4 separate regions of the Homo sapiens genome follow, and regions 2, 3 and 4 are each linked to region 1. Evidence: promoter capture Hi-C in 16 types of primary human blood cells and fetal thymus (Javierre and others, 2016). All regions are on one chromosome and are shown on one strand. The core of a region is centred on a gene start or on the middle of the fragment in contact, and the rest is flanking DNA. Distances in the headings are between cores, read along the strand shown.

Region 1 (2,700 bases), core at 18-2,517:
GGGACCCGGGGCCAGGCGGGGTCAGACGGGACGGGCGGACACTGCCCGTCACCCCGGGGCTCCGGCCCTCCCGCCAGCCGAGGCTCAGTGGGCAGGGGGCTGGGCTCCCCCGACCCCGGGCCAGGGCGGATCGCGGGCAGAGGTGGCTCCGCCCGGGGCTCCGGTTTCAATTTCGCAACGTGACGGTGCAAACCTGAGGCCTACAAACGCCAGCGGCGACGGTCCGCGCCCCGCCCGTCCGCCAGGCCCGGGCTCCCCAGCTCCCCGTACGCCGCGGCCGCCGCCCGCCCACCGGGCCTGGCGCCCCAGCCCTCATGCGGCCGCCGGCCCCCGGCACCGCGCGGCGCCCGTTCCGGCTCGCGGCCGCAGGTTCGGCCGCGGCACTTACTCAGCTCATCCTGGGAGGCGGAGGCGGCGGCCGCAGCCATGTTGCGCCGGGGAGGGAACGAGGGAGGGGCTGGGGGGGCAGGGCGCGGCCGGGGGGCTCGCGGCTCGCGGTGCGGCAGGGGCCGCGAGCCGCCTCCGTTCACTCGGCGCGGACCGCGCTGTGCCCCGAGGCCCGCCCGCCGCCGCCGCCTGCGTCCTCCGCGTCGCGAGCGTCGCCCTTCGCTGCCCCCGCGAGCTCGCGACTCGGGCGCTCCCGCAGCCTCGCGCCTCTGCGGAGCCGCTGCCGCTGCCGCCGCCGCCGTCTGTGCGGCCGAATCCCCGTGCGCCAGGCCCGCGCGGCGGCTCTGCGACTCCGCGCCGCGCTCGCCCAACTCACGCCGGTTTTATATTTAGAAAGAGCTGAGCCATCCTCCCAGCGGCCCCCCCGCCGGGCCCCTCGCGCGCCCGCCCGCCCTCGCTCGCTCGCGGCTCGTCCTGCCCACCTGTCGCCGCCCGCCCCGCGTGCGCTCCCCGCGCGGACTCGACACGCGGCGGCCTGTGCGGGCGGCCCGGCCTAACCGCGCCGCCGCGCGCGCAGGGCCAGTCCCCCGCGGCCCGGGGGCGGGCCTCTGACCTGAGTCGGAGCCGGTCTCCATGCCGCGGACGCTGCGCTCGGCGCCGCGAGGTGAGGGCTGTAGAGCGAGGCGTTCGGCGGGCCGGGCCCCGGGGAGCCGCGCGCCGCAGTCCGTGAGGGGCTGGGCCGAGCGGGCCCGGGCTGCCCTAGCGGCCGGGGGAAATCCTCGAGGCGGGGCCGGAGCGCCCTTTTCCGAGGTCTGCGGCTGTCACGTTGGCTGGGCCCGACCTGGGGAAACACGCCTGTCCAAAGGAAGAGACGTGGACTCAGAAAAGTAGAGCCGGGCTCGGAGTCGGCGGGAGGAAGCCCCGCCCTGCGCCTCCCGCCGAACTTCTCGGCCCCGGCGCTGACTCAGTCCCGGACGAGCCCCTGCGCCGCAGCGGCCCCCGACAGCCCAGTTCTGGTGTGGAGGTGGCTGGTGCTCCCAAAACGGCTAGCGGGAGCAGGGGGTCCACTCAGCCCTGCAAAAGTTAGATAAGGCAAGATTCCTAAAGTTCACATGGAAGTATCTATGCCTATGTGAGCTCTGAGATTTTGTTCAGATACCCTATGTTCTTTTCGGTAACTAGAGTGATTTATTTTCGATATGCTGATTTTAACTTTCTGCCTTCGCTTTGTCCGTGAGGTCATGTACACTTGCAAAATGAAATTCAAATTCAGGGGTTGCATAATTGCTGTACTTTAAGTGATGGTACTGTCATAACAAATTAGATACAAGATCAGATACTTTTTTTATATAAGAAGAAATCAAGTCTTAAATAGATTGAAATTGCATTTATTCCTTAAAGCAGAAATCTATAAAGCCCTAAGTAATGTCTTAAAAATGGAATATATGTCATTCCTGTTGTAACATAGGCCAAGTACAAGGTACAACACTGAAGACATTTTTATTTCCTTTATTGTTTTTGTTATAGAAATTATACATGATCTTGGGCCGGGCGCGGTGGCTCACGCCTGTAATCCCAGCTCTTTCGGAGGCTTAGGCGGGTGGATCACGAGGTCAGGAGTTCGAGACCAGCCTGGCCAACATGGTGAAACCCTGTCTCTAATTAAAAAATACAAAAATTAGCTGGGCGTGGAGGCGCGCGCCTGTAATCCCAACTACTCGGGAGGCTGAGGTAGGAGAATCGCTTGAACCCGGGAGGCGGAGCTTGCAGTGAGCCGAGATCGCACCACTGCACTCCAGCCTGGGGGACAGAGCGAGACTCCGTCTCAAAAAGAAAAAAAAAAGAAAAATTATACATAATTTTTGTAAAAAAAAAATGCAAATGATTTGGAGTATCATAAAATTAAAAGTGAAAGTCCTTCCTCCTAGCCCCACCATCCCACTCTGCAGAGAAATTATGACTAACAGTTACAGTTAAGTGTGCAGAAGACCTTTTCTCTGGACATATATATACAGCCCCATGTATGGCTTTGATGGGGACAGGTTTCTACAATAAAGTTCTGGATCAATTATTCCTTCACACACATTGTTCCATGTTAATTCAAAACACTGCACTACCATCACCCTTTTTTGTTTGTAACTTCATACTACACTAAGTTAACCAACCCCTTTTTTCATGTATGCTCCTCTTTTATTTGATGTTGCCTCCAAAATAAATACACAATGAACTACTTACAAACAATAGAGAGGTGTATACAGGTCTTCTCCCAACTGCATACCCACCATCCCCCCTCATCCCACTCATGCCCATAAA
Region 2 (2,700 bases), core at 31-2,530, 1.0 Mb after region 1:
TATTACACTTGAAAATAATATGGAAAGCAAAGAATCTTGGTCTAGGACAACAGTGATATTCTTATACTGAAAGGAAGTAACATTATGTATCAAAAGAAATTATACAACTTTGATGTGAGATATAACATTATGTTTTTTAGAGACACAGTCGCACTCTGTCACCCACGCTGGAATACAGTGGTGCAACCATAGCTTACTGCCTCTTCAAACTCCTGGGCCCAAAGGATCACATCTCAACCTCCCAAGTAGCTGGGACTACAGGCACGTGCCATCACACTTAGCTAATTTTTCTTATTTTTTGTAGCGATGGGGTCTTGCGGTGTTGCCCAGGCTGGTCTTGAACTCCTGGACTCAAATGATCTTCCTGCCTTGGCCTCCCAAAGTGCTAGGATTATAGGTGTGAACCACCACGTCCAGCCATAACTTTAAAAAAGTTTAAGAAGACGTTAAAACGTTGAAGCAATATTTAAAAACATTAAAAATCTTACCATAAAATGCTGAATTTCTACTCTAGCTTTTTTTCTTCTCTGCATGAACTTTGGCCAACCTAGCACCAGGGAGTAGCTCCCCCCTTGGTTGCTGCAAGTTAGAGAATAGCTTTCTCCTTCACCTTACTCTCCTCTGGAAATCTATGGCCTCTTTAGCTCCAGAGATAGGACAAAAAGTAATATGTATGGAATGGCTAGTAATTATTAGCTGGTTTTTTTTTTTGTTTTTTTTGTTTTTTTTTTCCTTAAGAAACCTGCAAAGAACCAAAATTCCATTAAAACCTACTGGAAATATATTTTCACTTGATGCCTGAAAATGTTTTTTGTTTGTTAATCATCAAGGATTTCATTAGCTGAACTTAACATACACATAACTCTTTTTAATTCTAAATAATTATCCAAAGTTGCTTCCATTGCTTTCCCTTGCTTCTCTGGATTGTTTTTAGATGATTCATTTACTCTTTGGTTAACTTTCATTTCATGCATAGGATACTTCTTGGTTGGCTTCTCTTTTTATTCTTGGTTTTCTTCAAAACTGATACTGCTTTAACCTTTTCTGTCCTTTTTTAATTGCAAATATTCTGTCCCTTCAGTTTTTTCTTATATTTTCCTCTGGAAATACTTATTATTTTAAAAATATTTTCCTTGCATGATTTAAGGCATAATCACCATATATCAAAAGCTCTATCCTTTTTTCTGTTATAGGACTTCATATTTCTGGGACGGAGTTGACAATATGTGTGAATTCTTAACCAGCTAGGACTACTTCCTCTTCTCAGCTTGTATTAATTTGTTAGGGCTGCCATAACAAAGAATCACAGATTGGTTGTCTTAAACAACAAAAATTTATTTTCTGACAATTCTGGAGGCTAGAAGTATAAGCTCAAAGTGTTGGCAGGGTTAGGTTCTTCTAAGGCCCCTCTCTTGGCTGATGGATGGCTGTCTTCCTAAGGTGGCTTCACTTGGTCTTCCCTCTGTGTATGTGTGTGTCCTAATTTCCTCTTAAGAACATCACTTACATTGGATTAGGGCACACACATATGACTTCATTTTACCTTAATTACCTCTATTCCAGGCCTTACTTCCCCTATAAGTCACATTCTGAGGTACCAGGGTTTAGGATGTGAACAGATGAATTTGAGAGGAATACAGTTCAGCCTATAACACAGTCCATCCCTCTACCTACTGCCTTTCATGCATGTATACCTACCTACCTACATATGTACATACATACCTCACTCCACATGTGGGATTTTGTTGGCAATTTTTCACTTGAATCCCAGGCCCCAATACATAGCAATATGATCAACTCTATATATAGTCATTAAAAATAAAGTAGCTAAAGGCTTTTTGTTTTTCACTCTTCATATTCATTGTTTTTAAATGCTTTATTTTTAATGACTTAAAGTACAAAATCCTTTTTTTGTTTGTTTGAGACAGGATCTTTTTCTGTTGCCCAGGATGGAGCGCACTAACGTGATCACAGCTCACTGCAGCCTCGACCTCCTGAGCTCAAGCAGTCCTCTCACCTCAGCCTTCTGAGTAGCTGGGATCACAGGTGCACACCCAGAGCCCAGCTCACTTTTTTTTTTTTTTTTTTTTGTAGAGATGAGGCCTGTGTGTCCCAGATTGGTCTTGAACTCCTGGGCTCATGATATCCTCCTATCTGGGCCTCCCAAAGTGCTGGGATTACAGGCCTGAGCCACTGTGCCTGGCCAAAATTCTTAATAGTTGTTTTGGAATACTGGAGAATATTATTGTGGCCAAATTCAGTGGAAGTGCTAATGCTGTTATTTTCTTCTGAGTTCTGAGGACTTGTTTCTTTTAGTGCTTTTTTTTTTTCAGCTATTGGTCTTGCTGCTCTCATGGTAAGTTATGCACTATTTGTTCTTTTCACGCATGTCTGATGATTCCTGAATCTAATATCTAGTCGGGGCTTTTCTCCTGAAATCCACATCTTTGTGTCCTACTACGACTGGATATATTCACTTAATTTTCCACAAGCATTTCACATTCAACATGCCCCAGACTTATTGTCCTCTTCACATCTGTGTCTTTTCTTTTATTCCTTAGCTCAGTGAGTTGGTACCACCTTCCATCCATTTTCCCAGTCCAGAAATTTAGGAGTTATCTCTGATTCCTTCTTTATTCTTAATCCCATTTTCCATACATAATCAAGCCCCTGGGTCAGTCAGTTCTTGCTGCCCAAGAT
Region 3 (2,700 bases), core at 117-2,616, 1.3 Mb after region 1:
TTGTTTCTTTCCTGGGACATCATTGGCTGAATTAAATTGTCCACACAATTTTGTCTCTGTTGGGGATTGTGCCTTCTCACTTGCCCCCCTTGTTTGATACAGCCCTCTGTGGCTTGCGACATGTCATCCTGAATGCTCTCTGAAAACGTCCTTTGTCCTCACCAGCCGTCCACTTCAGAAGTGGTGGTGTTATTCTGAGGCAGGGCTTGGGATGCCATATAGAATAAAGCTATGATTGTACTAAAAACCACCAGAGGATAAGCGGCTAACACAAACATGAAGAAGGCCTAAGCACATGCTGTACCAGGGGAAAGAATGAGCGAATGATGCATTGAGACTGCTTTGTTTCTGAGGTCTGGGTGCTCACAGGCAGCCCCAATACGCTTGCTAGTGAGGTCGATAGGATTTGTTTGGTAAGCGTACTAAATTCTGGGGCCCAAAGCCCTGTCTCCTGAAAGGTGCCAGCCTAAGTGTCTAAGATTCCTTATGAATTGGGAGGGCTCCATGCTGTGTTCTTGGGTTCTGGTGGCATTGGGGACCTCCCTCGCCCCTCATGCACACACATACATCTACTATCTTCCTCAGAGCTCAACCCTAGAAATCCAAGCTTCCCTCCATAAGTTCCAACAAACACCACAGCCTTCTGCTCTGATGGAGAAACGTTACACGTTTCCTCCTTACCACCATGCTGCTTTTAAAACTTTTAGTAGCCTGTAATCCCAGCACTTTGGGAGGCCAAGGCAGGCAGATCACTTGAGGTCATGAGTTTGAGACCAGCCTGGACAACATGGTGAAACCCTGTCTCTACTAAAAATACAAAAATTAGCCGGGCATGGTGGCACACACCTGTAATCCCAGCTACTGTGGAGGCTGAGGCAGGAGAATCGCTTGAACCTGGGAGGCGGAGGTTGCAGTGAGCTGAGATTGCGCCACTGCACTCCAGCCTGGGCGACAGAGCAAGGCCCTGTCTCCAAGAAAAAAAAAAAAAAAAAACAAAACCTTTTAGTAGAAGCAAAGTCACATGCTCTGGGACACTTATATTATTTCAGTGACAATTTCCCACCACAAGGAACACTGAAATACCACAGGAAATGGTGAATATGAATGGGCAGGGCTGGGCTAAATTTCATCGTGGAAACTTTCTACCAAAATACTTTCCATACAAATTCACTTTCTTTAGTTTTGATGACTACCCACTGGATATTGTGGCCAGCTGCTATCGACCAACCAGGAAACTGGAAAATAAATAAATAAACTGTAATCAACTATTTCATATGGCCTTTTAGGAACTCTGGGTCTGGGTCCTTTTTTTGGTGGGAGCATAGAAAAGTGGTACTCCAATCTAAACTGAGCAAATGGAGGACTTTGGAGGTCAATACACACACACACACACACACACACATATACACACATATATATGTACACACACATATATATGTATATATATATATATTTTTTTTTATTTTGAGACAAGGTCTCCTTCTGTTGCCCAGGCTGAAGTACAGTGGTGCAATCTCAGCTCATTGCACCCTCAACCTCCCAGGCTCAAGCAATCCTTCCACCTCAGCCTCTTGGGTAGCTGGGACTACAGGTATGTGCCACCATGCCGGACTAATTTTTACATTTTTTATAGAGATGGGGCTCTCACTATGTTGCCCAAGCTGGTCTTGAACTTATGGGCTCAAGTGATCCTCCCACCTTGGCCTCCCAAAGTGCTGGGATTACAGGTGTGAGGCACCCTACCTGGTGTGTATGTGTGTGTATATATATGTATATTCAACCAGACCCTACTCAGAATAGTAAAGCATATTTAATTACAAAAACTCTTTATTATTTCATAAGAATAGTAGAGAAAATCTGACAGAAAGGGAAAGGAAGGTAGGTAATTAACATTTAGGGAGCACCTATTTTATGCCAGCACTTTGCTAGGACTATGACATAAAGAATGCTATATAACTCTCACAACCATCTCATAAGGTATTATTACCTGCTCTCCATTCTCCTCCTTTTTAGGTTAGGAACAGGTTCACTGAGGTTAGTAACTTGCTCATGGTCACCCACTTGTAGTGACAAAGCCGAATTCAAATGTGGTTCTTTTTTCACTTTCCCCTGGTGTACTAAAGAGAAAGCTTGTATAGAGTCTTAATCCATACGGATGTCCATTATATTTAAGGCAGCCTGGTTGTTAAAATAAGTAGCACCATTCAATAAGAAAAACCGATGTTATACATCTATAGATGTATATACTCATTTCTAGAAATACTCATTTCTAGTTATATTGTGCTATTCATTTTCATGCTAATTCAGAAGAACAGATAATAGGGTCTGTAGTAGTTGTAAGCAGCCCTTGAATGTGAAAGTGTTAACAATTTTAATCCAACTCCAAGAGGACCAGAACTTGGCATTCCTTAGATGCAGCATTTAAAATTGTTCCCAGTGCCCTTTGAATGCTACTTTTCCCAGCCAAGGCAGGCTTATGTGGAGGAGATAAAGATGATAGCTTGAGGACTAAGGGTCCAACCCTATATAAATTACATTGGGGGAAATAGGGGAAGGTCTTTGAAGCTCAGAGTCTCTGACTGATATTTTGGGTAGATTTCAACCCTCTGCATTCTCTTCTATTTGTTTCTAGAGAAAACTGTGGTAGAGGCCTTAGTGAATCCCAGAGTCAACATCTGTCATCACCTTTTAGCAGGTAAG
Region 4 (2,700 bases), core at 30-2,529, 1.2 Mb after region 1:
TATATATATACATAGTCATCTCTTGGTACATGTGGGAGATTGATTCAAGGAGCCTCTCGTATACCAAAATCCGAGTATATTCAAGTCTGTTAGTCAGCCCTGAAGAACTCACGTATAGAAGTCAGCCCTCTGTATATACACGCGGGTTTTGCATACTATGAACACTGTAGCATCAATCTGCAGTTGGTTGTAAAACAATCCCTGTATAAGTGGACTTACATGGTTCAAGCCCATGATGTTCAAGGGTCAACCGTATATCCTTTTGCAATTTGCTTTCTTATTAAGGGCTTTCTACGTGCAAGGCACCATGTTGGGCAGTGTGGATGAAAAGACAAGTTAGATAACATTTTGCATTGACATTAGCTAATATTGCCTCTTAGAAGAGCTTAAAATGCAGTATTTTACAGGTATTTTCCCTTTATTTTTAAATTTTAAAAAAATCTTTAGTTTTGTATTGGGCAGCCCCTGAATCAGAATAGGTTCAGAGAGGCCCCCTCACCATTGTTGGAAAGGAAGCTTCCTGCTCAGTATCTACCTTCTAATACTTAAATGTGGGACTGTAGCTCTGAATTAATAACATGCTTGTCTCTCTTGCTGCCACTTATGTAGCTTCTTTTTAGTATGTAGTTCTCCTAGAACATTTTAAAAGAAATCATCTATTTTGATAAATTTTTTTATTTTATCTTTAATTTTTTTGGGACAGGGTCTCGCTGTGTCACCTAGTCTGGAATGCAGTGGTGCAATCTTGGCTCTCTGCAGCCTCCGCCTTCTGGGTTCAAGCGATTCTTCTGCTTCAGCCTCCCTAGTAGCTGGGATTACAGGTATGCAACACCACGTCCAGCTAGTTTTTGTATTTGTTAGTAGAGATGGAATTTCACCATGTTGGCCAAGCTGGTCTTGAACTCTCAACCTCAGGTGATCTGCCTGCCTCAGCCTCCCAAAGGGCTGGGATTACAGGCGTGAGCCACCATGCCCGGCTTTATTTTGAGAAATCTTTTAGTAATTGGCAACAGAAATGATAAGTTTTGATCATCCATTTCTAACAGTTGTCAGTCAACACTAGTCCTGTGTCTGCATATGAAGATTATTCACCTTTATAAGATTTCCAAAATAAATATGATGATGTTTCTCAAAATTAAGAATTGTTTGGAATTTAGGTTTACAACTTAAACACAACCAAACCCACAAAACAGACACATTCTAGCTAATACATTTTATGTGACAATTGATGTTTTGGCAAATGCAATCGCTATTCACAGTGTAAAGAGGATGCCCTTAGCGACGGCATGCATTTCTTTGGGTTTGCTTGCCTATATCACTGCATGCCCCATGGTACCTCAGTTCTCCCACCAGATTCCTCTATTCAAAAGATTATAAACTCTTCATTTATATAGCACAGTATGAAGTCATTTGGGCTTCATTAGGCTCAGTATTGCCCATAGACCTAAGCAAACAGGAGGGACTCTTGCCGCCACATTTTAGAGGATCCAGTACACACACGCGAGCACATAAATTTGTTAAAGGACAGATGAGAACTTCTGTGCTTGGGATCTGGCATTTGGCTCTGGCACAGAACAACCTGGAACTTTGAACGTCTGCTTCTGTGACTAACACCATTTATACCCTGTGGAAACACCTCTTGCCCTGTGTTCTTGAAAGAAAGGCGGCTGGGTTGGACTGCTGTGAAGGTTTACGAGTTATGCCTCTGTCGAGGTCAGAAATGGACAGTGCATTTTAGTGCCGGGAATTGTTGAGCAGCAGAACTTAGGTAAGAGAAAAGGCAAATTATTAACTTCCAAATACCTCCTCTCAGATCAGAGGAATTCAGTGGAATTGTGCACAACCGAGAATTGTTTCCCTTTAGTGAGAGTCCATTTTCCTGTTTTCCTTATTCTCATTTGTGATTCTGGAGCTCGTCAGAATTAGTTCACTATTCACAACAGTTGCACTGTTGGCTAAGGAACTATTTCTGCAATATTAAATATTTGATAATTCCTGTTATATTTGTGTGTATATATATATAGGTTTATAAGTAACATAAGTGAAGCTTGATACTGATTCTCTAGTAACAAATATATTGTATTAAGATAATACAATTTGCAATACATATAATTTATGACAAAGTTAAAAATATCCTACTATTCTGTGATAATTGATCTTATGTATTATGGACTGAATGTGTATGGGATCTTTGGGGTGTCAATTTTCTGGCCAGAAACCTCTGTGGTCACAGCACCTTTGCCCGAGTTCTTGTCCTGTGTCCAGGTAGAAGAAGGTACACAGACAAGTGAAAGGTGAACAAGACAAAGAGCTTTATTTAGTGTTACAACAGCTTGGAGGAGACCCAGAGTGGGCAGCTCCTCTCTGTAGGCAGGTCATGTGTCCAGTGTTCAGTTCTCAGTAGAGAGGAGGCCCTGGAGAGGGTGGCTCCCCTCTGCAGACAGGTTGTCTCTGCAGCTCTCAGTGGAGAAGGTAGCTTCTCATGCCTGTAATCCCAGCACTTTGGGAGGCCGAGGTGGGTGGATCAGCTAAGGTCAGGAGTTCGAGACCAGCCTGGCCAACCTGGTGAAACCCCGTCACTACTAAAAACACAAAAATTAGCTGGGTGTGGTGGTGGGCGACTATAATCCCAGCTACTCAGGAGGCTGAGGCAGGAGAATCACTTGAACCTGGGAGGCAGAGGTTGCAGTGAGCCAAGAT

The links. The method cuts DNA at HindIII sites, captures the fragments that hold promoters and counts their contacts. A CHiCAGO score of 5 or more calls a contact.
Region 2: a fragment that was not itself captured here is called in contact with the fragment with the promoter of ECPAS in region 1 in 1 of 17 cell types (total CD8 T cells); the score reaches 6.3 in total CD8 T cells.
Region 3: a contact is called between a fragment that was not itself captured here and the fragment with the promoter of ECPAS in region 1, in 2 of 17 cell types (non-activated CD4 T cells and activated CD4 T cells). The highest score is 8.7, in non-activated CD4 T cells.
Region 4: a fragment that was not itself captured here is called in contact with the fragment with the promoter of ECPAS in region 1 in 1 of 17 cell types (non-activated CD4 T cells); the score reaches 6.3 in non-activated CD4 T cells.

The regions. Positions count from the first base shown.
Region 1 is chr9:111,483,116-111,485,815 of GRCh38, forward strand. ECPAS (Ecm29 proteasome adaptor and scaffold) reads right to left here and starts at 1,268. Exons shown (of 50, transcript NM_001364929.1): 1 at 1,001-1,268. RefSeq lists silencers at 1-317, 588-707, 828-1,367. The HindIII fragment of the contact is 4,796 bases long and covers 1-2,700 here.
Region 2 is chr9:112,490,847-112,493,546 of GRCh38, forward strand. The region is part of intron 1 of KIAA1958; the gene reads left to right. Among named protein-coding and RNA genes, the nearest start is that of HSDL2-AS1, 4.6 kb to the left of the region's middle. The HindIII fragment of the contact is 3,067 bases long and covers 1-2,700 here.
Region 3 is chr9:112,747,093-112,749,792 of GRCh38, forward strand. SNX30-DT (SNX30 divergent transcript) reads right to left here. Exons shown (of 1, transcript NR_186503.1): 1 at 1,792-2,700. It also overlaps a transcript of SNX30 not described here. Among named protein-coding and RNA genes, the nearest start is that of SNX30-DT, 2.1 kb to the right of the region's middle. The HindIII fragment of the contact is 1,522 bases long and covers 606-2,127 here.
Region 4 is chr9:112,730,470-112,733,169 of GRCh38, forward strand. No RefSeq gene overlaps it. Among named protein-coding and RNA genes, the nearest start is that of INIP, 14 kb to the left of the region's middle. The HindIII fragment of the contact is 1,531 bases long and covers 515-2,045 here.